Regions from separate parts of the Homo sapiens genome. Here all the other regions are linked to region 1. The links are contacts of gene promoters, found by promoter capture Hi-C in blood cells and fetal thymus (Javierre and others, 2016). All regions are on one chromosome and are shown on one strand. The core of a region is centred on a gene start or on the middle of the fragment in contact, and the rest is flanking DNA. Distances in the headings are between cores, read along the strand shown.

Region 1 (7,140 bases), core at 1,937-4,436:
ACATGTATAATTGAACTAGTCAAACTAGATGAGATCAATGAATTGCTTTTTTTTTTTTTTTTTTTTTTTTTTTGAGACAGGGACTTGTTCTGTTGCCCAGGATGGAGTGCAGTGATGCGATCATGGCTCACTGCAGCCTCAACCTCCTGGGCTCAAAAGATCCTCCCATTTCTCAGCCTCCCAAGTGGCTGGGGCTATAGGCCTGTGCCACCATGCCCAGCTAATTTTTACATTTTTTGTAGAGATGGGGTTTTGCCATGTTGCCTAGGCTAGTCTCTAACTCCTGGGCTCAAGTGATCCACAGGCCTGGGCCTCCCAAAGTGTGGGGATCACAGGTGTGAGCCACTGTGCCTGGTGATGAATTGCTGTTACCATTCTAAGCTAAAACAGTACTTCATCTTAGGGAGAAACATTCTGAATCAATGGCAAAATGACTGAGAGGGAGTTATGTAATCCTATCTCCACAAGAACGAGATCTGTTTCCTTTGAACCATATTCAGAGATATCTGATTGCAATCAAGGCAGCCATGTTTTATAATGACCCTACAAATTGCAGAATCACAAATCTATATTGTTAATCAAATCTGCTGGAGAATTCTAAATAGATCTTGATATGGTTTCGCTCTGTATCCCCACCCAAATCTCATGTTGAGTTGTTATTCCCAATGTTGGGGGAGGGACTGGGTGGGAGGTGAATGGATCATGGGGGTGGATTATGGTTTAAAAGTGTGGCACTTCCCCCTTCACTCTCACTTTCTCATTCTCTCTGTCTCTTTCTCTTCTGCTACCACGTAAAGACACGCTTCCTTCCCTTTCGCTCTTCTGACATGACTGTAAGTTTCTTGAGGCATCCCAGGCGTGCTTCCTGTACAGGTTGTGGAACTGTGAGTCAATTAAACTTTTCTTTATAAATCACCCAGTCTCAGGTAGTTCTTTATAGCAGTGTGCGAAAAAACTAATACAGATCTGGTAAATTTTTCCCCAACTTTCAACTCTTATTCAGCTAGCAGTAATAGTGCCAGGAAATGCCAACATGTTAACCCCAAAATCATCTGGACTAACTTGTCTAGAGATGGTAACATAAGCATTGTTTAAAAAAAATGGAAATTACTGTTGCATACCTTAATTGACATGTGAAGGTATAGGGAGAGAATATTTGTAGTGTATGCAATGATAAAGGGAATAAATTGAGCAGACTTGCCATATTTACTGAAAAAGAAGACAATAAATCATTTCACTAGCAGTTAACATACAGCTGGTTTATACTGTTTCATTAGCAGCATGAATTATATGAAAGAAAACATGCTAAGCAGCATGCATGGTAGAACATAAAAAGCTTTGAACTTAGACCTAAGTGCAACTTCAAACCCCAGTTTTGGCATTTAGACTGAATTATGTGGGCAAGTTATTTACATTTTCTGAGTCTCAATTTCCTTATCTGCAAAATGGCTATGTGTGTATTAAATGAGCCAATTCATAGAAAATGTCTAGCCAATGCCTCGATACATGAGGTGCTAACAATGCTATTTTCCTTTTCTTTCTTAGGCTCTTTGAGTGAAGGATACTACAGGGAGAAATAAAAAAGTCAATTAGACACTGACACTGTCTTCATAGAACCAACAGGATGTTGAAAATACTAAAAGCAAATAAGCTTTAAATGGCTGGGATGGTAGATTGCAATACTGGCCACGACACTTGCAGCTTCTCACATGAAGAGGTGGAATCTCTTTCTCTGTCTCTTGCATGTGGGCTGTCCTTGCCATTTGCTTTGACCAACAGGACATAGTGGACATTATACTGTGATAGGTTGAGCCTGAACTTCAAGAGGCCTTCAGATATCAATGTACTGCTCTTGGGAACCCACCACCACCATGTGAACCAGCCCAGCCTGCTGGAGGATGAGAGACCACATGAGCAAAGAGCAGTAATTCTAACTGAGACCACCTTAGTCCAGTCAGCACCAGCCAACACAGCAGCTGAACACAGAGCATGAGTCAGTTCACTTAAGACCAGAAGAACTGCCTAACAGAATTGTGGGCTAAACAAATGGTTGCTGTTTTAAGCCACTAAATCTGAGGGAGAGGGTTAGCTATGCAACAGATAACATGAAGAGATATAGGGTCATGACATTTTTCAATCAAAACACAAAATTATGGGAACAATAGTTTCAAAAGAGTTTTGGGAATGATTAGTCATCAATTCCAATAGAACGATGTGGTATAACAATTGCTACTGCATTAGATTAATGAAAGACGCAAATCTCAGGGTTTCATGTGCAAATGATTCTCTTGGTAGCTGGAGGTAGAGAGATTAATTTTTCCCAGGTAATGTTATTCTGAGGTTTCTATGCTTTTGGAGTTCAGAAATTGTTGTTATGCATTATACATGGCAAAAGAAGAAAAAGATGGCAAGGGAAGAAAAGCCGAACAAATTAGATGTTGAAAATAAAATACCTGTAAAAGCAATTTGGGACAATGTCAGGGAGTTTTATACTGCAGGTAGCAAAAAGCAAAGCCTGGGTAACTCATCTCTTTCCCATGTCAGTCATCCATTGCAGAAAAAGGATCCTGGCCTTTACTTAACCTTGTTTCCCCCCTTCTTTACCAAGTAGAGCACACCATGAAAGCGATTAAATATAATTTTAAAATTGTGTCATATTGGTTTCTGTTTATGCAGCAGACAACTAAGTGTGACTTTGAAGGAAATAATTTGAGATATATGAAGGAAAAATCACCATGCAGCTGAAAAGTGCTTCTCTTAAATATGGGCTAAATTCTGTGATTTGTGTAATGGTTAATTTTGTGCTTATTTTGTGCGAATTTTGGACGTCACCCACAGGTTATTTCTGAAAACTATGAAGTCTGAAGAATGAGGAAGGTGCCTTTTGTTCCCCTCAGTGCCAATCAATACTGTAACTGAGGTGGGCTGGGGTGGTAAAACTTACAGACAAACAGTAAGTTCTTTGGGGTGACAGTTGTCACGCCTCCTCCCTGCCTTCTAAATGCCCAGAAACATGCTAGCTCTGAGTAGCAGCCCTCAAATACCTTCTGATATGAATTGAAATCCAGTGGAGGGCTTATTCAAGTTCTAAGAATGAGCCGCTATGGAGCACACACATAAACCTCACAATGGTGGGTGGGACACACCTGATACACTTCTTAGGACAGAAAGGACTATGGCTGACAGTGAAAGTGGAAAAGAAACAGTGGGAGGAATGAGAGGCAAGAAGCAGCGGGTAGCACTTTTCTCGGTATCAAAGAGACGTGAAACTAGGGTAAGGACAGAAAACTCACTCCTGGCATTCCTCAGCCAATCCTTGCTTTCCTCTTCTATTTCTTAGTATAGAATTGCTAGTGAGGATACGAGTTAATGGCTAAGGAAGATACTTTGCATTGGTCCAGAAGAGCAGATTATAAAAACTCAGATTTGGAAGAAAATTTCTTAGAGGTTTTCTGGTTTGATCTCCTTAAGCTTCCAGAAATTCCTGACTGTTGATCATCCAACTTTGATTTGAATGCTTCCAATTATGGAATCCACTCAATTGCTGTGGAGTCTCTAAGTGCTAAGCTGCCATTATATTGAACTAAATATTGGTATCACACACCTTTTAGTTCTGCTTCTGCCCTTTGAAGCAACCAAGAACATATCTTCAACCTCTTGAAAAGCTGAAGAGGGGCCATACATTGTACAAGAAAGAGAGCTGCGTTAGAAGTTATGACACTTTGGTTTTGCAACTGACTAGTTCATGTCCTGCTCCCTCAATTTATTTATTTATTTATTTTCGAGATGGAGTCTTGCTCTTGTCGCCCAGGCTGGAGTGCAAGGGTGCAATCTCAGCTCACTGCAACCTCCTCTTCCTGGATTCAAGTGATTCTCCTGCCTCAGCCTCCTGAGTAGCTGGGATTACAGGTGCCCGCCACCACGCCTGGCTAATTTTTGTATTTTTAGTAGAGACAGGGTTTCACCATGTTGACCAGGCTGGTCTCGAACTCCTGACCTCAGGTGATCCATCCCCCTCAGCCTCCCAAAGTGCTGGGATTACAGGCATGAACCATCGCACCTGGCCTCCTCATTTTATTTAACTTGTTGCTGCAGTAATCACATACTCAATATTTTGTTAATATTCCTTTTGAGAGTCTGCACTAAGAGTGGAATATAATTGCGTAGCTATAGGTTGAGGCCAGGATTTTTTTTTTTTTTTGAGATATAATACAAAGGATACTGGACATAAAATGGTTAGACCAGAAGTTATAAACCCATGTCGTTAAAGGCAGGTAGGTAACGGAGAGGTCGAAAGGAATGGGGAATTGGTGGTTTGGGTTCCTGGAAAGACAATAGGGACTGGTTGAAATCTGCAATTTAAAAGACATAATCTATCTGAAGGCATTTGTGGTAGCCTGACTCTAACATGGTCCCCAGTGGCCCTCATCTCCTGGTATTACCCCCCTGTATAGTCCCTGCCTACACTGTACAGGGTTGGTCTTTGTGACCACTTACACATGAAAGAAGCGATGGCATAACACTTCTGAGCTTATGTCATAAAAGACTGCAGCTTCTCTCTGCGTACTCTCTCAGCTCTCTCTGGGGGAAGCCAGCTGCATGTCATATGGACATTCAGGCAACCTAGGGTGTGAATAATGTGGCAAGGAAATAAAAGGCCTGCTAGCAAATGCTCAGTTGAGCTTGGTAATGGGTCCTCTCCCAGCATCTCCAGCCAAGAGCTTGACTGCAACCTCATATGAGATTTTGAGCCATAACCATTCAGCTAAACTGCTTCTGGATACCTGACCATAGAAACTGTGAGATTATAAGTATGTGTTATTTCAAACCACTAAATTGAGGGTAATTTGCTATGTAACAATAGATAACTAATACAGCATTCAGATTCATTTTAAAGTATCAATGTGGACATGCACACACACTTTGCTGATGAAACAAAATATAGGGCTCCAGTTTATAACCCTGGGTTTCTCAATGAAACCTGGATCTACAGAAGCCAAAAGGTATGGTTAAGGCAGCACTCGAAGGTCATTTGGCAGCTCAGTTTCTGCTGGAAGGGAGGAGATGAAATCCATTCAGAGCTCAAGCAGGAAGCTATTTTATCCACCAACAGAAACAGAATATAATTTTCCTTATCACTGTAGAGTAACAACAAACCATGGGACAGAACCTAGAGAAATCTGACAGAAATCCTGTTCTATAATACAAAGAGCACTTGGATTAGAGTAGAAAGCCAGGTGGAACTTCAGTCTTATCAAAATAGAAAAGCATTTCCCCGTCACTAAAAACTAAGAACAAGCATTTCACAAAAAGTAATGGAAGAAGCAACCTGTTATGGTCTGAATGTTTGTGTCCCCCCAGAATTTATATGTTAAATCCCTAACCCTCAAAGTGATAGTATTAAGAGGTGGGGGCTCTGGGAGATGGTTAGGCTATGAGGGCAGAGCCCTAATAAATGGGATTAGTGCCCTCATAAAGAGACCCAAGAGGAACCTCGCCCTTTCCATCACGTGGAAGTGGGCCCTCTCCAGACACAGAATCTTCCAGCACCATGATCTTGGACTTCCAGCTTCCAGAACTGTGAGAAGTAAATATTTGTTGTTTATAGGCTGCCTAGTTTATGGTATGTTTTTTATAGCAGTCCAAACAAACTAAGACACAACTCTTCTCAGAAATCCAAGAAATAACGTAGTCACTTGGGGTCTGAAACCAGAGATTGAGAGGTCACTCTCCACCCAATAGGAGAAGCAGATCTTAGGGGGACAAGAGTACATATGAAACACAGCAGAGGAGTAGGATATGTCTTTGAATGAAGATGCCTGAGGGACTGAATAAAGAACCTGGACAACTAAAGAAAAAAGACACCTATGGATCAGAATTGAGACAATTTCTTCAGGTAATGGTTTTTACCAATAAGTTAAGGAAGTACTGAAAGTGCGTTTTAGAATCCTACTGAATACCCTTTGTAGGGTTTTGCATAGAATTACTCCAACAATTACGCTGAATATAGAGTTAAATATGAAGAATAAATTTCTAGAGTTTAGATCCAGTCATTCTCAATAAATCCTTTTGTTCTTAACATTAAAGAAAACCCTCAGATTTTGTTACAAATAGAGGATGACAGGAATGGGTGCCCTACTCAGTCAGAATCCCAGGCCAGAAATCTGCACAAACAGGTTAAGTGGAAGCCCTAATAGGATACTGCTTTAACAAGAATTATTTCTGTCAACACAATGCAGAGTCATTATCAGGCAATTTCAGAAAGTGCCAGGAAGCATCATGTGGAAAATTATAATCAAGGCCTGGCTGAAGTTGGGCCATCATTATGGAAAGTCAGGAAAAATGCTATGTGCAGCGTGGTGCTTGGCATTTTGTGGAAACACCAAAAATGTCAACTGGGGAGACTGAGAAAAACATGAGGGAGGAAGATGCCATTGGAAAATAAGCATAAAAGAGGATTAGTGTAAGATGAAAGCTCGTGTGCATAAATTAGTCAAATAGAAAATACTGATAGTCTGTGATTTATACTGCTTGGAAGAAAATAGGCCATTATGGATACAAGAGACTGTTAGTTCAGGATAGTTGTCAAAACCATTGCATTAAAATGCTGCCTTTTTGTCACTGTTTTCAGTGATCTTGATATTTTCAAACAAGGGTTGTGGTAGACTGGTGGGCCTAGAACCTAGGTAGAAGTTAAGAGAAGAGAGGAAGGGGATGAACTATCTTTAAGAAGACTTGAGGGTTCTGGCACCCCACATGGTGTATTTCTACTTTTTTGCTATTTTTAGGTGAGACTGGGTTAGTTATTAACTTCAGAAGGAAGAAGGAGTCACCAAGAGAAACAGCTTGAGGAGCGAGGTGTCAGGAAGCTGCTGAGGAGGTGGAGAGGAAGGGAACTGTACCAGTTTTCCCTTAGTGGTGGTGGTGATAGAACATTTATGGGCTGACTGTATGTGAGGAAGGATTATATGATTGAAATACTAATTTATTTATTTTTGCTAGTTGTTCCTTTACCCACTTTGCCTTTCATTTGAAATTCAAGGAGACAGTCTAGTCTATGCTTGTTGTTTCATGGAAATGATGTGATGAGAGAAAAGTGAAAAAAATTATAAATCTGGCTTTTATGTTTTTAAAAGCCCG
Region 2 (7,140 bases), core at 2,677-5,176, 580 kb after region 1:
TTAGTGTTATCATGGTATATCTTTCTCCACCCCTTTACTTTTATTTAAGTGGATTTCTTGTAAACAACATATAATTGGGCCTTACGTTTTGACCTGCTCTGGCAATCTCTGTCTTTTAATTAGTATATTTATATTTAGATAATTGATATTTAAAGTAAATATTAATGTAGTTTGATTAATTTTGATCGTATGTGGTACTATTTTCTATTTTTTACCCTTGGTCTTTGTTCTTTTATAGATTTTTTAAGTTGCCAAGTAGAACACTTTCTATAATGTTATACTTTTAAAATGTTGTTGGAATGCATTATGTTATAAGCTTTTTAGAATATTTCTGCATGGTGAAATTTTAGATGCCATAGGAAATTTTGATTTAATATGCAGTCTATTTAAATTTCCCCTAATAAGAATGTATAATAATAATTTTGAAAAAAAATAATTCCTGGAATTTCAGGTAAGGATATTTTATCTGAAATAGTATCAGTTTCTCCTCCAGATATCTCAACAAATAGAATATTTTGGAATTCTTTGAAAAGCAAATGATGTTACCTTTCAAGCTCCCTATTTGAGCAGCTCCCCCTAAGGAACAGAATTAAAATGAAAATAAACTAATTTTTTATCTGTTTTTAACATGAGACTTAATTAGGTCTTTTAAAGTAGAGTAAAATTTATGGTAATTTAACTTCAGGAATTTTGTTTCCATTAGAATTTATCAGAAATCACCATCTACTTAAAAGTCATTAGTCTTCAGAATGATGGATGATACATTTTGTTCCACCTTTCATGTACTGGTTGTTAGAATTTACTTTTAGAAATTCAAAACCAGTTTTTATTTTAATTTGGAATGTGTTTTGTAGGTTCATTTAAATTTTAGTATTTAGAAAAGGTGGAGAAGCAAGTTGCTTCCCTAACTTCTTCTACTTGTTTAAGTATTAACCTGTTCTAGTAGTCTGATTGCATTGTTTCTGAATTTACATGAAACTCTGTTTGGTAATTGAGTGACCTTTTCTCTCTAAATCAGAAGAGCTAAGATATATCTTTTTTGAAATGGTTATTTTATTTGCTTTGACTTTCTTTTCTTAGCATTCCTCCAAAAATCCTTATGTATGTAAACAGTTTTATTAGAGTAAGTGGCAAAATCCCCAACAATTTTTACAAAATAAGTTTTACAAAAGATAATTAAGGATTGTAATATTTTTCCATACCTGCCAAGTGAGAATAGTCAAATTGCTGCCACTAATGGCATTGGCCTCACATGACTTTAATTATCATGAATTACTCAGCTTTCACCTTTCATTTATTTTAGAACCATAAGCTGAATTTTGAATTAACTTATTTTTGTGTCTTGAGAATATTAGAAGTGGAACAAAAACCATAATACCATTATTGTCGTAGTGTTGAGTAGTTAATGATTTTTTAAAGACTAAAGATATCTTTTGTCTGGGCATGGTGGCTCACACCTGTATCCCAGCAGTTTGGGAGGCCGAGGCTGGCAGACCACTGGAGGTCAGGAGTTGAACACCAGCATGACCAACATGGTGAAATCCCATATTTACTAAAAATACCAAAATTAGCTGGGTGTGGTGGAACACGCCTGTAATTCTAGCTACTTGGGGGGCTGAGGCAGGAGAATCGCTTGAACCTGGGAGGCGGAGGTTGCAGTGAGCCGAGATAGCGCCATTGCATCCAGCCTGGGAGACAAAAGCAAAAAACTCTATCAAAAAAAAAAAAAAAAAAGGCCGGGCGCGGTGGCTCACGCCTGTAATCCCAGCACTTTGGGAGGCCAAGGTGGGCAGATCACGAGGTCAGGAGATCGAGACCATCCAGGCTAACATGGTGAAATCCTGTCTCTACTAAACATACAAAAAAAAAAAAAATTAGCCGGGCGTGGTGGTGGGCGCCTGTAGTCCCAGCTACTCAGGAGGCTGAGGCAGGAGAATGGCGTGAACTCAGGAGGCGGAGCTTGCAGTGAGCCGAGATGGCACCGCTGGGCGACAGAGCGAGACTCCGTCTCAAAAAAAAAAAAAAAAAAAAAAAATCTTCTACTGATTTTCTAGAGAAAAAAAAGAAAAATGCAATGATTGTTGAATTCAAGAATTCAATGAATTAAAAGACAATTTACTGATATTTTATAATCTGCTGTGCATGGTCCTTGAACAACAAGATATCAAGAGCAAATATGGGTTCTAAAACAGCATTCAAAATGTGATGCTCCAGGAGGGCTCTTAAATGCCTGTCACTTTCACTGTGGCATTTCTATTAAAAATCGAACAGAATATCTGACCATACTTTTCCATCCCTAGTGGCTCTCCAAACGGCAACTGACCTTGCTGACCAGTAAGTTTCTCAGTATTTGTTTTCCAAAAGCATTGTATTTTAAAGCTGGTTTTTACATTTTTCAGTTTGATAAGGATGAGCAAGCTATGGTTTCTACCCCCAAGAAGCTTACATGCTATCAAGGGAAAGAGATGCATATGGAACTAACCAAAGATAATAAAGTAAATACTATGCTATTTGTGGAAACGCCAGAGAGGAAGCTAGTAATTCTTCTGAAAGGGTTAGAAAACTTTACAGATGAGATGTGATTAAAGTTTGTCCTCAACCATTCCATATATTCCACAGAAAAGATATCAGAGAAAGGTGTGGGGAAATTAAAGGGACAATCTCACACAAAAAAACTTTGAACTTACAAAATCATGTACTTTGAGTGAGAGGGACCCTCTAGTATGGTTGTTAGGAAATCAAGAAAGATACACATCATTGGAGGAAAGGAAGCTATAACTTAAGACACTAAGGTAGAAGGGCTCATTCTCTTCTCTTTCTACTCCATTACCTTCTAAAGAGTTTAGAAATAATCAAAGAATATAAAGATGCTTGTAATCTAGCTACTATTTCAATATTTACTATATACAAGGCATAATGCAAATTTATTTGCACAGGATTTCTCAACTGATTCTGTCAACAACTCTTACAATTAGGCATTATAGTTTCCATTTTATAACCAGGAAAAACCTAATGTTAATAAAAGTTAAGTAAACTTCCTGGTATCACATAACTAATAGGTGGTATAACAGAGAATCAAATCAGTGTTTTCTGACTCCAAAGTTTATTTGTGTTCTTAGTCACTACATCACACTATATCCATTGTACAAGAAATGTGCTGTAAGAAACATTAAGAAACCTAGACGGATCTGGTCCCTAACTTCCAGGAGGATGTCCCTAGAATGGGGATTTAGCCTGAAGGATGAATATCTGCAGAGACTGAGTTCAGAGCACTCACATTGTTGCCATTTTTTAAATTGATGGAGGTCTCCAAATAACCTCTATTTCCTCAGAGAACACTATGAATTTATCAATCTCAGTGTTCGGTCTCACAAACTGGAGGCATATCACTCCTCATATCTTCTAATTAGAGCCATAGGATAATCTTCTGATAATCCATTTCCTTGGCGTGTGACTGCAAAATCCTAACCTATACACATGGAAACCAATACTATTGGTTTTACCCTTAAAATTCCACTGATTTAATTATTTTATTGTTTTTAATGTTTGAACTCTATAACAAACTAGAAATTCTCCACTGTTGGTAAATGCGGATAGCATTGATGGGAAAATATGAGACAAAGGGTGGAGACTGGAGACTTAATTTCATGTGATTATTCCTGCTAGATAACCAAAAAGAGAAGTTGTGATGGCAGTTCAGGGTATTTCTGTCTGCACTGGCATTTCTGTGGCCCACAAGCTATAGGGAAAAAACTGTCTGGCAGACTCCTTGGTAGTCAATGAAATTGTCTGTGGGTCATAGAAGGCCACGTGGGCACTGGCCAAATACCTGACTGCTAGGACTGACCAGGGATAGTGTACAGGTAGTTCTGGTTTCTTCCTAAAACTATTACTCAGGAATAAACTGGAGCGCATCAGTCAGTCACATTGATCACAAGACTTTTTAATTTTAGAGTTTGCTTCCATTTTGAAAGAACAGGTAAAATTCATTTCTTGATTTTGTATAAACGTACCTATTACATACTTAATTGAATAACTTATTGAATATTCTTAGCAGTAAATTACCCATGAAACTAAAGTGTTTTCCCTATTAATTATCTATAAAATGATTAATATTGAAAAAGGCAATAAATAGATTTCATCTGACTCAAATTTTTCTATCACAAATTAGACTATAAACCATCTTATTTAAAGTTCCCAGTTTAGAGCTTTGTTTGAAATGGGAAATGAAAAATTAAAGTATCTTAGAGAATCTCTGTGTTCATAGAAAGTTTCAGCAAGTCTTACACAGAGCACAGTAAAAATGATATTTTATGTTAAACTCATAAAGCAAAAAGGAATAATCTGTTGACTATTATTAGGTCAAGTATGCACAGTATACATATAAATTTGTAAGCAAAAGGAAATTGTAACCGAAATTGATTTAATAATTTAGCACTGAGGAAATGATTTTCATATAATAAAGTTAACATATTCAGTAATAGAATGACTATATTTGCAAATCTCCTAATTGGATTTTTGTCTTAATATAAATTGCAAAGCACTTGTACTTTATTATAAATGAAATGGTGCACTCATCTATATAATTATCCATGTAATCCATATAATTATTACTTAATATTGAGCATGCACCTCCTGGGTTTGTAACTGATAAATTTGGACTTTAATTATTGAGCCAGATACTTAATTTATATAACTTTAAATTATTACTCATTCATAACTCTAGTAAAAGTAACCAAAGGGGTGCTATAATATTTTTGTGTTCTGATATATTAGAGAAAAAATTTTAAGATGAACATTTTAGTAATAGACAATATAAATTATCAAAAAAGTGTCACTAAAGAAAATAGCTTACCTGTTATTATCACTATCATCACAAATATTGTAACTATTAAGAATGCTATAAAATTTTAAATAACTAATAATATAGTGATTTCTTTCAGTGTATTTTCACCTTATGTAGTAAAATTAATGAACATTAATTTATCTTAAAATTGGAACATATAACTGACAATTTGTCTCTATTGAAGTCAGCATATTTTTAAAAATGTGATCTCAGAAATGAGAAAAAAAGTGGAAAAATATATCAGCTATATATAACTAAGTAATTGGGAAAAAATTATATTTCTTAAATATTTGAAGTGGAAAAAAATCCTGAATATTGTATTCTAGCTATAGTTAGCAGCACAAAGAGACAGAATAAGGAAACAGCAAACCAACCATGATTGCAAGCAATTTTTCCTTTGCTTTTGGTCCCAATAGAATAATTGTGTATAGAAGAACCTGGAAACAGGCAAAGGACCTGGCAGGATACACTTCTCCTAATTTCTGTTTCTTTAACATTCTATTAAAATAATACTCTTAGTAAACTTTTGCTTTGACATCAACAGGACAAACGCCTTGAGGCTTTAGAGGTGTGCCTGGAAGACATGGTGGGTTTATTTCACTCTCAGGAACTGAAGAGTAAGTGATCACCATGCCCCCTACACAATGCATAAAAGAACAGGTCCTGCATAAAATAGAAGACCCATGGCTCCTGGGTTTTAACTCCCAAGGTCCAGGCACCCTTGGTCCACAATGAATCAAGTGGAAATATTTGGGATAGGCATCTGGATATGTAGAACTGAGGCCCAAGACAGAGACTTGGCTGGGGATAGGAATGTGGAGTTTGTTCTTCTTAGCAGGTAGTTGATAATGTGCAGTGGGTGAGATAACTCTGCAGGAATGCGATTGTGTTGAATGAGAAAGGTAGCAGGTGAATATGGAATCCTGGGGAAAACCTGAGAAATACTTAAATTACTGAGATGGGCCAAGGAAGAAAATCCAGTGAGAAGCACAGGATGGTTCCATAGGTAAGTTATTTTACAAAATGAGTTATAGTTTCAAGAATGATTCTCTAATTAGTGTCAAATAATGCAGGAAGATATAATATTAAAAGGACTGTGGATTTGTCAGGATGGAGCTAATTGGCAGTCTTAGCAGCATGTTGTAGTCTAAGTGGATGTGATACTGGTACGCTGTGGGATGTCCTCAAATGCCAGTGGGACCTCGATTACAGCCAATGTCCAGTCTCTTGACATCATTGCAAGAAAGAATTCAAGGATGAGTCAGAAAATAGTGGAAGTATGGAGATTTATTGCAAAGCTAAAGTACATACTCGGGAGACGGTAATATGGGTGTACTCAAGAAAGAGTCATGCAATAGAGTTTGGGGTTTCTAGATTTATGGATTTCTATAACCAGGGGGTGGACTCTTCATGAAATTCCTGGAAAAAAATGGAGATTTCTCAGAACTGTGGTGACACTCAATTTTACCCCATGTGGCTATTCTTGGAACTGTCGTGGCACTGGCGGGTGTGTGATTTAGTTTTGTCAATGAGTAGATAATGAGGTCTTAGGAGGAACCTAGCTCAAATCCAAAGCCGTGTTGGGTCCAGTCAGTCTTAGCCAGCTCAGTCCACACCCTGTTTTTCAGGGTCTTATCAGTCCTTAGCTTCTGTAGCTGTTTCAACAGTTTGCTTTCACTTAGTCATGTGCAATTGCTGCCTGGAATTTTCTATTCTGCGACCACCCTGTATAATTCCTGCCTCAGATGGTGAGTGTGGAAGCCAGACTGTTATTTTCTAAGGTGAATTAGAGGTGAGGAAGCAGTGAAAAGCCAGTTTGGTCTCTGCTGGTATTGATTTATGCTATTATTTCTGCCACACAAATGGTAGGAGGAGAAACAGAATAGCCTAGCGCAATAGTTTACAACATTAGCTGCATATTACAGTCACCCTGAGAAAGGTTAATTTTATTTTTTACATTTTTATACAAATGCCTGCTTCCCCTCTCTCCCCAAACCCACCAAACCAATTAAATCTTAATCTCCAGGAAAAGGACTCAGATATTGATGTTTTCAGTAGAACTCCAGGTGATTTTAATATTTAGCTAGATTTGAGGACCACTGGATTAATTATATAAGACTATGGGTTTTGTAATCAGCTTTAGATTAAATGTCAACTCAGCTTCTGCTGACTGTGTGACTTCTCTGAGGCTCAATTTCTTTACCAAGTAAGGATAATAACAGTATCTTCTCCACTTGATTTCAGGAAGAATTAAATGATGTAAAGTATGTGAAACACTTGGCATGGCCCTGTCT
Region 3 (7,140 bases), core at 1,001-3,500, 550 kb after region 1:
CTACAAAGAGAAGCTAACTCATATTTGCCAGACTGGCAAAAGTACTAAAATCTGAGAACATCATATTTTGCCTGGTATACAGAACCAGCTGCCCACTATGTGTTCTTGGTGGAAATGTAAATTTGAACCATCATTTCAAAAACATTTGATGTTTTCCATTTGAGCAGAGGATGCATCAATCTTATGATTTAGCAATTCTACTTTTGTCTATATATTCCTCAAATCACATGCATATGGATACCAAAAAATATGTGTAAGAATGTCTTTAGAAGCACTGTCTGTTAACAGCAAAACCTGGAAACAACCCAATAGTAGACTGAATAAATAAAATGTGGGATATTCCTACAATGAAACAGTAAATAGCAGTAAAATGAATGAATTATAACCACATACAACATGAATGAATCTTATAATAGGAGCAATGAAGCCAAATTCAAGAAGATTTTGCTATACTTGATAATTTCGTTTAAATACAGTACTAAACCATGCAGAAATAAACAATATAGTGTTTGCATATACAAACATATTTGGTAGCTATTTAAAGAAAACATATTTAGTAACAAAGGAATGATACAGAAATTCCAGTTACTTGGAATGGTAGGGAGGGCCAGGAAATAGGATAGGATTGGTGAACAGCATTTATGAGATTTGCAAAGTGATAGTAATATTGTGTTTCTTAAACTGGGTTGTAGGTAAACATGTGTTTTTTTAAGGGTTGCATTGCTATTTTTGTACTTTACATATATTTTATAAGTATTTTTGTATCTACTCAATATTTAATGAAAATAATTGAAAAAAACTATCTTCAGTAAGTGCTGGAGGGAAAACTCATATTCAAAATGTGATAACTAAGAGAAACTTTTATTAGTTCATTTCCTATAAGATATTCCATAGGCTCTCAGAGTAGATCTGATTCTGAATAAGTTAACCCATCTGTAATTTCTAAAATGTCTTTTTGGTACAGGAGAAGCCATTTTTTGGTGAGGGGAGAAGAGAAAAACAGCATCATAATGACAGCTCACCAATCTTTACTATTCTTGACCTTCTAAGATTGCTGTATGTACAGGGTTAAGATATCTTAAAGTACAGCTTGATGTGAGAGAATTTGCAGTCTGTTCACAGATGATCTTTTTCTTGCAGACAGTGTTCGATGGGACTTATAGATATCCTGAATCATCTTTTGTCTTCATTGAAATTACAGTTCTTTTGATATGAAAATATCTTACTGTTTTTCCGTCAGTACTACTAACCACCTAAATTGATGTTTTATTTACAGGGTAGTAAATAAGAACATGTTTGTCAAATATATACTCTTGTTATTTTCCCCTCAGCTTTTTGGGGGTGTCTTTATCTTTTCTTATTAGTGCTATCTTAATTGTTCCTTCTTCAAGCAGCTTATAATTTATAACTCTTTGCTTAAGGCATAATTGCTGACCAAGGGCCTCATTTCAGATCCACTTATCTATTGCTTTTTGAAGTTGTTACTGCCTTATAGAGGCCTGTCTTCAGTTGATTATAGATCAGTGCATGAGCTTTCTTGTGTAGGACTCTGCTCGCACTCTCTTACCTTCCTAGACTCCATTTAGTGACTTTTCCAGAGCTCAGCACGCTAGTGAAGACACATTGAATGTAACACTACCCATTATCATCTTTCCTTTTAGCTAATTTGAAAGCACAGTTTTAAAACTAAAGAAAAAAAACCCGATAGATTATTTTAAATTCAACTGCCTTAGAAACATTCAGTAGTAAATGAACTTATGTGATTAATATGGAAAATAAATCTGTTCTCCTTCACCCCAAGCTGCATTCTGTGTTTTAGTTGTATTTGTGCCAAGAAGTTTTGGCAATCTGTACATCTTTTTTTTTAAGCCTCAAAAGTAAATAACAAAACACAGACTCCATGGTTGTGTGGCTGATTTTACAGAGTATTATGGTGTGGATAGCTTTGATAAAATTCTCCCAAATTTTCCTATTCTCACAAGTACATCTTCAGAGTCCTTCCTCAACCTGTGTGTGGTGTGGGGGTGTGTGCATGTGTAATTTCTAAATTCATACTATTTTACATGATTCAAACTTTAAAATAATACAGAATAATGTATGGTGGGCCCACAACATCCTGAAATAACAACTTAAAAAGCTAGATAAAATGTTTCAAAGATTTCTGAAAAGCGTAAGTGAGCTAACAAGATAGTAAAAAATTACCTGGCTAAATCTAGGATAAACTAAAAATTCAGAGACTTATGTCCCAAACTAAAACTTGCTTTTGCCCAGAGGGTATTTATCTATTGAAAGAAACAACTGTGAAACTGAACTGTGGTTTTGGCAGCATCCTGATACAAGGGAACACACTTCCAAAATCAGTTTCTACCTAACTGCAGAGTCTGAAAAGAGCTATATCCTCAGAATAAGCATGAACCAGAAGTAAAGAAGCCCTTGCTTGAAAACAGACAATAGAGATCCATAAAAATTCAGATACTGAAATTAACAGACATATTATAAAACAACTTATGCTTACAAGCTAAAAATATATATCAACAAAACGAGCTTAAGAAACAGAAAGTTAAGCCGGGCACGGTGGCTGACGCCTGTAATTCCAGCACTTTGGAAGGCCGAGGCAGGCAGATTGCTTGAGGTCAGGAGTTCAAGACTAGGCTGGGTAACCTGGTAAAACCCCATCTCTACTAAAAGTACAAAAATTAGCCAGTGGTCATGGTGCGTGCCTGTAGTCCCAGCTACACGGTAGGCTGAGGCACAACAATCGCTTGTACCCTGGAAGCGGAGGTTGAAGTGAGCTGAGATCGCACCACTGCACTACAGCCTTGGGGGACAGAGGGAGATCCTGTCAGAAAAAAAAAAAAAAAAAAAAAAAGAAAGAAAAGAAAAGAAACAGAAAGTTATTTTAAAAGTGTTACTGATTTTAAGACAATCAAACCAATCTTCTCATCCTGAAACTGTTACTAAAATTAAGAACTCAGTGGAAAGATTAAACAACGGACTAGATTAAAAAGAAAATTAGTGAGCTGGAAGATAGGTTAGAATAAACTTTTCAGATTGCAGCATGAAGGGGACAAAAAGATAGGAAGTGCAAAAGACATGCTAAAAGACACAGAACATGTCTTATAGACATGTTCTTAGTATCTAAACTAATATGGGAAGATCTAAAATAATATGAGTAGAAATTGATCTTTATAGTTTGTCCCCTTAGAGCCAGGAGACTGTAGTAGGGAGATGGATGTAGTTATAAAAGGGCAAAATGGAGGATATTTGTGGTATTGGAAGTATTCTTTATCTTGATTTAGGTAGTAGACACACAAACTTATACGTGTAATAAAATTGTGTATAACTAAACACACGCATGCACACAAATAAGTACAAGTAAAACTAGAGAAATCTGAATAATATTGGTAGATTGTATAAATGCTGGCTGTGGCATTATACGATAGTTTTACAAAATTTTAACATTGAGAAAAATAGGAAAGTGTACACAAAATATCTCCGCATTCTTTCTTTCTTTCTTATTATTTTAAAAGACAGACTCTCACTCTGTGGCCCAGGCTGCAGGGCAGTGGCACGATTATGGCTCACTGCAGCCTCAAGCTGTCCCCCTGCCTCAGATTCCTGAGTAGCTAGGACTACAGGCATGTGCCACCACGCCTGGCTAATAGTTTTTATTATTATTATTATTTGTAGAGAAGGGGTCACACTATATTGCCCAGATCAGTCTTGAACTCCTGGGCTCAAGACAGCCTCCCACCTCAGCCTCCCAAAGTGTTGGCACCACTGCACCCAGTCTCTGCATTATTTCTTTCTTTCTTTTATTTATTTATTTATTTATTTGTTTATTTTTTGAGACAGAGTCTCGCTCTGTTGCCAGGCTAGAGTGCAGTGGCGCGATCTCAGCTCACTGCAACCTCCATCTCCCAGGTTCAAGTGATTCTGCTGCCTCAGCCTCCTAAGTAGCCGGACTACAGACGTGTGCCACCATGCCCAGCTAATTTTTGTATTTTTAGTAGAGACGGGGTTTCACCATGTTGGCCAAGATGGTCTTGATTTCTTGACCTTGTGATAATGTCTGCCTTGGCCTCCCAAAGTGCTGGGATTACAGGCATGAGCCACTGCGCCTGGCCTGTATTATTTCTTATAACTACATTTGAATCAATAATTCTCTCAATAAAATTTGAATTAAAAAATATACAAACATGTAGATGCACAATAGCAAAAATGCAAAATGCCTAAGCAAAGAAAACATGTTAAATACAACAGAAAAATAAAGATGGACTGCCTCCAAAAGAACAGCAGTTTGATAACTTCATAATGCCAACTAAGGATGCTAGGAGTCAGTAGAATACTAGCTTCGAAGTTTTAAGATAGGTAGCCAGTGAAGTTATTATCCAAAGTGAAGGTAAAATAAAGGCATCTTCAGATACACAGAAAAATAAGAGTGTTCACCACCTTCAAAACCGCACTAAAATGTAACCCTAAAGGATTTACGTAATAAGAATAAAATGACCCTACATGGAAGATGTGAGATGCATGAAGGAATAAAAAGCAAAATGATACACATATTACATATTAGTTTGTAAAATATGACAAGTTAGCATATATCCTTACCAGATATCAAGACTTAGTAACATTAACACAATATAGAATAACTAAGGCTGCCCAGTGGGACAGCAGAGGGCACCTAGAAACAGTCATGCATTTGTGAGCATTGAATTAAGCAGTGTAGAGCAGTGGAAAAGGACTTTTTTTTTTTTTCTTTTTTGAGACAGATTCTCAATCTGTCACCCAGGCTGGAGTGCAGTAGTGTGATCTCGGCTCACTGCAACCTCTGCCTCCTGGGTTCAAGAGCTTCTCCTGCCTTAGCCTCCCGAGTAGCTGGGACTACAGGCATGCGCCACCACACCCAGCTAATTTTTGTATTTTTAGTAGAGATGGGGTTTCACCATGTTGGCCGGGATGGTCTCAATCTCTTGACCTCGTGATCCACCCGCCTTGGCCTCCCAAAGTGCTGGGATGACAGGCGTGAACCACTGTGCACTGCCGCAAACCTCATTGGGAAATATATTCATGATATTTGGGAAAAAAAATATTTCTGAAATAAAACATAAAAAGCACTAACCACAAAGGAAAAGATCAATAAACATGCTTATGTTAGAAGTAAGAATTTTGGGCCAGGTGTGGTGGCTCACTGTAATCTCAGTGCTTTGGGAGGCTGAGGCAGGAGAATCACTTGAAACCAGGAGTTTGAGAACAGGCTGGACAACATAGCGAGATCCTGACTCTACAAAAAAATCTTTTTAAAAAAGTAAGTAAGAATTTTGTTCATCCAATGGTGCTATAAAATTACTAAAAGACAAGCCAGAGTAGAAGACATTTGCTAACAAAGACTCATATTCATAACATGCAATGAATGCCTACAAATCAATAAAAAGAGAAAATTTAACAGAAAAAAATGGGCAAAATAACATGAATAGGCATTTGCCCAAAAAGGTGTCAGAAAGGCCAATAAACCTTTAAAAATGTTTTTAACTTTTTTACAGTTAAGGAAATATTACTTATAGTCTTAATGAGATAACAGTACTACCCCCCACTGCCTACCACCAGATTAGCAAAATTTAAATTAACAATACACGATACTGAGAAAAACAACTCAATTTTGAAATAGAATATTTTTATAGATACTTCAACAAATATAGCTAAATGGCAAATAAATATATGAAAACGTGTTCGGCATCACTGCATTAGCACAATATAGATTAAGATTATAACAAAATAGAACTACACATCTATTTGAATGAATCAAATTGAAATCATTGACCATACCAAATGTTGGTAAGGTTATGGAAGAACTAGACCTCTTATACGCTGCCAGTAGTAATGTAATTTTTTTTTCTTTAGACTCCCTTAAATGTGATTTGAGTCTGGAATATATTTGTTTCCTAGTTTCACTAAAAATGTAGATTTCAGGTTTTGTTTTGTTCTTGTCGCTTTTCTGTATTTTCCCATAGGAAAAGGGGAAAATGGTGACTTTCATGGCCATGTTCATGCTGGAAGCATTCTTTATATTTTTAGGCACATTAATTCATTATTTTGAAAAGTTGATTAGAGGTGCCTTTTTAATACTAAACTTTATGAGATTATATTGGGTTGGGTAGTGCTTTATAACATAACAAAACAGAAAATATTTTCATACACTGTACCACTTCTTTTGCCATGAAAATTAATCTGATCTAGTTTAGTCAACAAAATAGAGTGAATATTACAATCAGAAAATTGAATTGAAAAGGAAATAAAAACAGTTATGCTGTCCTAAAGTTATAATCACTATAATCAACAGATGAAAAAATATGTTATGGTCGCACCCAGGGAAGTTTAAATTTTAGGCATCAAAGCACGAATCCAAGAAAGTCTTGGGAATGCCTCGCCACTTTTCTGCAGATAGATATTAGACAGATTATACTTGATAAAGCACTAAAAAAGGCTCTCTGAGAAAAAATTGTTTCTTCATACCTAGCACTGGTTGGTGTCAAAGCTTTTGATCAACTGTAATCAGTTGGCTTTTAGAAACAATGACTGATATTTTCTTTAAAGAGTTCTGTCAATCTAAGTATTTTTGTAATATATTTGTTATTAGCTTGCAGCACTTTTAATCATGTTTTTTCCTTGCAGTATTTTACTATAATGCCTCTAGTTTCTTTATCATTTTGCAACTATGATCTGTTTTATACATAATTAAACACCTTTTGCATTACCACATAGTCTGCTTCATTTCCAAAATTGAAGAAATGGCTTGTGTAGTTGTTAGGAAGTGATGATTTTAAAACACTACAAGGAATAAGATTCTTTAATATATTAATTATCTGCCAGATGAGAATGGTCTGTAGACAGGGTAAAAGAAAGGCATAATTCTCTGGAATGCAAAGAAAAACTAGCTCAAGAGATTGTTACAGAATAAGAGTTACCAGCAGACAGTTTAAGAGATAAAGACTGGGGCAGTCCTCTTTGGGCATTATACTTACATATTTTAGGTAATAAATCAGACTATTAAGGATTAAACTATATAATTATTGCCACAAAGCATGTCAACAAGCTTATTATAGCAAATGAGAAAATCTCGTTGAAATTACCAAGCTTCTT
Region 4 (7,052 bases), core at 1,734-4,233, 530 kb after region 1:
CTAAGGATTTGGAGTCATAAAGAAACTTATGAATTGTGGGATCCTGATTCCTGGCTGATTACCAAATCTCACTAAGTCTTTGTTTCTTTCATGTTTAAAGTGAGGATAATAATATCCTTATCACAGGACTTTTGGGGTAGCTAAAATAGTTTATGTAAAGGTCTTATCTTAGTGCTGACACATAATAAGTACTCAGTAAATGTTAACTACTACTAATATTTATGTATAACAAGATTTAGCTTGGGTTCCATTTGTGATTTAGCCTGCAATTTGAAATAATAGCTGATTAATTCTCTGAAACATTAGCTTCCATAATTGTTAATATTTAGCTGAAATTTAGCAGATACAAAAAAAAAAGTAATGTAAACTTGTAAAAAAAAATGGATTATATGAATAAAGCTTGAGATAACCCAGAAGAGAAACTTTAAGTTTTGCAGATGATCTCGTTCAGGTGACTATTTGTGAAGTTTAAAAGCAGATGAAAGCAACTATGTCTCATAGTGTACCAGGCTATGCAGTCATAGATGTATATTTTATTAAGGGCTACTAGATACAACTAAACAAAGTAAACCTTAATGTATAGAGTTTTGCATATCATTCTACTTTTAACAGCAATATTCAAATGGTAATGGATATTTAATCCTTTCATTCTAAAATATCTGTGATATTTCAGATGTCTGGTGAGAGCTGTTGAATTCATTATTCTAGAATATCTGTGAATTTATGATTCTAAAGTTTTTCTGAACGGCAGAGGTCTGAGAATTTGATGAAAGCCTTCAAAAAAGTTTTAAAAAACGTATAATTTTGCATACAATTACAACTTTTGAGGCTCACAGACTCTTGGAAATAATTTTTAAAAACCTAGCTAATCAATCCCAGATTATGGGCCCTTGGGCTGTAATTCTTAAAGGAATGAGTTGTTTTTTTAAACTTTTTGAGATGGAGTCTCATTCTGTTGCCCAGGCTGGAGTGCAGTGGTGCAATCTTGGCTCACTGCAACCTCCACGTTTCAAGCGATTCTCCTGCCTCAGCCTCCTGAGTAGCTGGGACTACAGGCACGCACCACCAAACCCGGCTAATTTTTGTATTTTAGAGACAGCGTTTCACTATATCAGCCGGGCTGGTCTCAAACTCCTGACCTCGTGATCTGCCTACCTCAGCCTCCCAAAGTGCTGGGATTACAGGCATGAACCACCACGCCCAGCCAAAGGAATGAATTTTACAAAGATTCTCTTGAGGATATCTTCAGGATGACTTATATGGGATATATGGGAAAATTTGGAATAGCTAGAACTTCCTCGACCTCCCTGGTAATCTGCATTATTTCTCATGATTTGGTTGGGAGTACCTTGATGACACTTCTATCAGGGAGGTACTAGGACAGCAAGGTTTGTGGTCACTATAAAGCCCTTGAACTGAGATTTTGGATCTTTGTTATAGGTCTTTCTGTTAGAAAACAGCCTTGAACTCTCATTACATTTTTCATATGGTTATATTATGGGATCACATTTACTCAGAATAATGGTGTTTCTATTCCAAATTAATCTTCCAGAGTTTGGATACTTTTTATTTTTTATTTTTTATTTTAGAGACAGGGTCTCAGGGTCTCACTCTGTTGCACAATTTGGAGTGCAGTGCTGTGATCATAGCTCACTGCAGCCTTGAACTCCTGGTCTCAAGCAATCTTCCCACCTCAGCCTCCTGAGTAGCTGGGACTACAGTGTCAAGCCACCACATCTAGCTTTTTTTTTTTCCTTCATTTTTTGTAGAATCGGCATCTCACTATGTTGCCCAGGCTTGTCTTGAACTCCTCCTCCCTTGGCCTCCCAAAATTCTGGGATTACAGGTGTGAGCCATGGCACCTGGCAGAGTTTGAATATTTTAAAGCCAAGAGCATGCATGTATGTGTAGTTTAGTGAGTGCATATATAAACACATATATATGTATTAATATAATTGCAATCTAAGCTTTAAAATATTGCCCACTAAAGCATACAAACTGCCATGAATCTACTCATGCAGTACAAGGGAAGACTATGAGTACAGCCAGAACCTCAATTCTGGAAAATATACTAAAGTCATCTCTATGCTTAAGGCTTTATCTCTGCCGCCTAACAGTACACTATCATGGGATATACTCATTTTTGTTTCAGTCATCTCTCAGGAATTGAAGTCTTGACCCATATCTTAAAATGGTGACTAGGGTCCTGTTACAGGTTTACCTACTTCCACAATGTCAATTGCCTGCCTGCCTACCTACTGAACCTCTGGATGTCATCTTGGCTCCAGCATTTCTGTGTTATACACATTGAATAACCTGCTAGTGCATAATTCTACAAAAAAGAATACACTCTTCTGCCTAGCAGACTATTTCCTGCCCACACCTGATGCTGAGGCCATTCTCCCCAGCCCTTGCCTGGACCCCTTGCCTGGGCTGTCAGTGTTCAGTTCTGCAGTGGCTAGCTGGGTCATGACTAATCATGCTTGAGTTTAGACCAAACCCCTATCTCATTCCCTTAATGAGAATTGTTTTAATTTATCCATTCCTCAATCCAACCTACAACTGCTGAGTTCCTACCACCTATGTTAAAACTGTAGAACAAACATTATCCCTACCTAATTCATGCCATAGTTTACTGTATTTTTTCGAAAGATTTAAAATATTTTTAGAGCAGACTTAAATACATAACATGGAATGATAGAAAGATTACCTAAAACTTGACAACCCCAAACCAACTAATATGTTTTATAAACATTTATTCATCTGGAGCTACTTCTTTACAACAGCGGTAATTTTGCCCCGCAGATGATATTTGCAATGTCCGGTGGTGTTTCTGGTTGGCTTAGTACATAGTATGGGGGAGGGTGTGGGAAACTGTTGCTACTGGCATCCAGGTTGTAGAGGCCGGGGATGCTGCTAAACATTCTACAACTTACAGGATAGCTCCCCACAAAAAAGGAATTATCCTGCCCAAAACGTCAATATTGCCAAAGTTGAGAAACCCTGCTTTAAACAAACTTTTTAGGTCAGCCTTTGAAGGTATTGAGGTGGGAAGTGTTGCTTGCTGCCATTTGGTGATATTTGTTGGTCTACGTACCATTTATTTCTATATTTAGAATTTTAGTTTTTATAATACACCTGGGGAAATGATGCTAGATGTTCATATGGAAAACATTTTTCCACTTAAAGTAAAATCTTTCAATGTATACAAAACCAGGGAAAGTCAACAGGTAAGTAAGCATGTCAGACTTTGCAATATTCTAGAAGGTTAAAATAATAACAGTATTTTTGTATACCTAAAAATGAACATAACTTCCTGCTTCTACTATAGGATAGAAATGAAAGAGGCAGCAAAAAATCCAGAGAACAAATAAATGGCTAATTGGTTCAGGGTTTTGAGGGCTCTTCTGAGACTTTTTTTCTTGATTGCATTGGAATATAGATGCCTCAAATGACACTATAGGTTTATTATAATTTTATCTAATTCCATATAAATTTATACAAGGGCTCTTTAGATTAAGGTGGTAATAAAATATCAATTAGCAAATTAAAATAACTAGAGTTCATAGATGCCTATTCACCACTTCATTAGAGGCATTTTATGAGAGATTCAAGCATGAACATTTGGTCTGAGTGTCATTTTAATGCAAGTGTTTCCATTGTGGTTTGCTGCATCATATTTGAGAAATGTAATAAAAATACACATTCATAACCTTAGAAGAGCTGTATCAAACTGACATTTTTTTACTTCAGTTAGTAATATACGAATGTACTATATCGTATAGTAATATACGAATGTACTATATCGTATAGTAATATACGAATGTACTATATCATATAGTAATATATGAATGTACTATAGCAGCTAACAATTTTCTTGTATAACAATGGTCTCTGGTTAGAAGGAAATCTGTTAGAATTTGAAGATAATAAAAGGCCAGAAGTGGCTTAATGAATTTTCTTATTGAATAAATTTACCTCTCTTTTGGAAAAGCTTGTTTTTAATCTGCTAAATCAAAAATAGGTTTTCCATAGGTAGTATTTATTTTTTATGTATATACATATTCATATTCAATTTGGTTGTAAGCTCATGGGTACATAAATCCTCAAAACATTGCATTTATTTCCATCTTCACTGATCTACTGGGGTCCTTAAGTTTCTTTGTTCTGGAAAAGAAAGTCATTCCTTTAAGAAAAATAACGCTACTCTTCAAGTTTGAATTATGAAAGTACTCCTATTTCCTTAATACTCCTGGAACGATGTTCTAATTTTTTGTCTTAAAAAATGATTAAACTTGTGCAAAATTGTTTTCTGTTTTGAATTATACTGACAAAATCAGAGATTTTACACGGATTAACCTAAATCCCAATAACCCTATTTAACATACAAGTAAATCTGGATGCAGTGTTTAGTCTCTCAGTTCCCCAGTTTTCTCATTTTCAAAATGAGAGACAATAATGTGTTATGGTATAATAGATGCCAGTGCCTTGCACTTATTAGTTGCTCTGTAAATGTTAAATAACACTTATGGATGGCTTCCAGCTTTGTTATGGAGAAAACAAGAAAAGTATTAGGAGAAAAAATTAAGAGTCACAACATATTGGAATGTTTATTTATTTTAAGATATCTTCTTGTAAAGGAACATAACTGGCAAATCCAACATCACTCAGACTATGAGTTATCATGTTTTTAGTAGTTCCGAAGCTAAGTTATATTAAAGTAAATATACAGAAACATACATGTACATGAATCTGAATAAACTCAGCCTCCCTCTCCCATTCTATTTTTTTTTAAACTTTTTGTTCTGATTTTCTCCATCACACAACCCTCATATATTTAACAGAGCTGTTGAATTTTAGAGTTTGAATGGAGTTTAAATTTCTTTCAACCAATGCAGAAATTCTAAAATAGTTCCAAGTTTTAAATTTTAACTCTTGATGGAAAAAAAAAGTCAATATACACTCTCCTACATGCTTTTCTGAAGAACTGCATTTAATCCTGCCACAACTATATGACATGGGCATTACTACTCTCCCCATTTTTAAGATGTGGAGATAAGCTCAGAAACATTAAGAGATTGCTCAGTATCACACAAGCAGTAACCAAAAAGTGGGGATATGAACAGGATATGAAAAATCGCTGACTCCAGAAACTGTGATCTTAACCACAAAACCATATATCTCTCCAAATTAGAAAATGCTTTTAGGAATAGAGGGTTGTCTATTTAGAAATTTTATTAACAGCCACATATAAGAGAAGAAGATATATCTGCAAAGGCCCATAAACACTGATCATTCTGGCTTCAAACACAGGAGAGAAGAACAGAGTCACTTCCCTAACTGAACCTGGTATTTCTAGGTGTACAGATACCCCTTTCCTGGAGATTCTGAATCCTAACATTACAATTGTATCTTAAGAATGTGGGCCGGGTGCGGTGGCTCACGCCTGTAATCCCAGCACTTTGGGAGGCCAAGGCGGGCGGATCACGAGGTCAGGAGATCGAGACCATCCTGGCTAACACTGTGAAAGCCCGTCTCTACTAAATAGAGAAAAGAATTAACCGGGCGTAGTGGTGGGCGCCTGTAGTCCTGGCTACTCGGAAGGCTGAGGCAGGAGAATGGCGTGAACCCGGGAGGCGGAGCTTGCAGTGAGCCGAGATTGCGCCACTGCACTCCAGCCTGGGAGACAGCGAGACTCCGTCTCAAAAAAAAAAAAAAAAAAAAAAAAAGAATGTGTTCAGCTGCTAATAGAGACCCCCTCCCCAAAACACTGGTTTAAGTAAGGCCTATTTGTTTCAAGCAGAGAAGACTTGAGTCAAGAGTCAGGCAGGCAAGCCTCCACAAGGACGTAAGGCCTAACTTTTTCCATTTGCCACTTTCACCTGCTTAGCATGTGTCATTCATCCTTACGGTCACAACAGTGGCAGCTATGTTTCCAAACATTATGTATGAAATTCCAGGTGAGAATAAGGGAAAAGCTCAAGGGAAAAATGGACTTTGCTTGTTATTCAGAAAGGGTGTCCTCCTGATGAATCTCTACCTGCAGCTTATTGGCCAGAACCATCTCATGACCAACCACAACTGCAAGTAAGGTAAGGAAAGTGAACTATTTTAGTTGAATATATTGGAAATAATTGAGAACCATGTAAACAAATGGGGAACAGACAGACAACCAGCAACGTCTACCATAGGCCACCTCCTTGATTACCCAAGTGACATACCTTAAATTCACAGATACAGAAGGTTGAATGTAAAAGGATAGAAAAAGACATGGTCATGCCAGTATCAGACAACATAGATTTTAAGGCTGAAAGCATTACTAGAGATTAAAGAGGCATTTCATAATGATAGAAGTTTCAACTCACCAGGATAATACAGCAATTCTAAATTTGTATGGATGAAATAATATGGGTTCAAAATATATAAAGCATACACTGGACTACAAGAAGGATTTGACAAATTAACAATTACAGTGGAAGACTTAACATATCTTTCTTAGAAATAGAACAGTTGCTAATCATTAAGGTTTTCATCTCTTTCTTGTAGCAATTTCCTGAAAACAGAAAGTTAAGTCTACTACACACAAATATTCTGAAAATTTGGTAGCATTTGCTCTAACATTCCAACCTCAGCTGGCACATTGTCTATACCCCAGATCTAGCATGCAACTACCTGCCTATAGTGTCTATCAAGAGTCACTGGCTTCCCAGGCTGTAAATGACTGGGCCCTTTTTTCCTTGTAGTGCTCCTGGCATTGACTTTCGTTTTGGTTTTGGTTCTCAGATGAGAACAACAGTAGCTGGCTCTGATTAATTAAATTAAAAGGAGTTTATTTGGAGAGTATTGAGTTGCACACATTATTGAGGCAAGGGTTAGAGAACCAGGCCCAAAGCTAAGCATTTAGGAACAATGTACCAAACCATGCAAAAGTGGTCTGATAATATTGATGCCACAGTGAACATCCTATTTGCTGGAACTTTTCTTTATTGTACTGCAATTTCCAACAGCATGATATCTCCTTTAGCTAGTAGTTGGTCTTAAAACCAATACTG

What was found. Contacts are between HindIII fragments. The CHiCAGO score rates a contact against its expected background, and 5 or more counts as called.
Region 2: a fragment that was not itself captured here is called in contact with the fragment with the promoter of KCNQ5-AS1 in region 1 in 3 of 17 cell types (naive CD4 T cells, naive B cells and fetal thymus); the score reaches 8.5 in naive CD4 T cells.
Region 3: a fragment that was not itself captured here is called in contact with the fragment with the promoter of KCNQ5-AS1 in region 1 in 11 of 17 cell types (M2 macrophages, naive B cells, M1 macrophages and 8 more); the score reaches 10.9 in M2 macrophages.
Region 4: a fragment that was not itself captured here is called in contact with the fragment with the promoter of KCNQ5-AS1 in region 1 in 16 of 17 cell types (M2 macrophages, total B cells, M0 macrophages and 13 more); the score reaches 21.6 in M2 macrophages.

Annotation. Positions count from the first base shown.
Region 1 is chr6:73,139,560-73,146,699 of GRCh38, reverse strand. KCNQ5-AS1 (KCNQ5 antisense RNA 1) reads left to right here and starts at 3,186. Exons shown (of 5, transcript NR_046621.1): 1 at 3,186-3,274. The region is part of intron 10 of KCNQ5 (potassium voltage-gated channel subfamily Q member 5); the gene reads right to left. The HindIII fragment of the contact is 1,820 bases long and covers 1,654-3,473 here.
Region 2 is chr6:72,560,377-72,567,516 of GRCh38, reverse strand. No RefSeq gene overlaps it. Among named protein-coding and RNA genes, the nearest start is that of KCNQ5, 58 kb to the left of the region's middle. The HindIII fragment of the contact is 2,965 bases long and covers 2,444-5,408 here.
Region 3 is chr6:72,583,989-72,591,128 of GRCh38, reverse strand. No RefSeq gene overlaps it. Among named protein-coding and RNA genes, the nearest start is that of KCNQ5, 35 kb to the left of the region's middle. The HindIII fragment of the contact is 8,574 bases long and covers 1-6,537 here.
Region 4 is chr6:72,606,020-72,613,071 of GRCh38, reverse strand. No RefSeq gene overlaps it. Among named protein-coding and RNA genes, the nearest start is that of KCNQ5, 13 kb to the left of the region's middle. The HindIII fragment of the contact is 2,027 bases long and covers 1,970-3,996 here.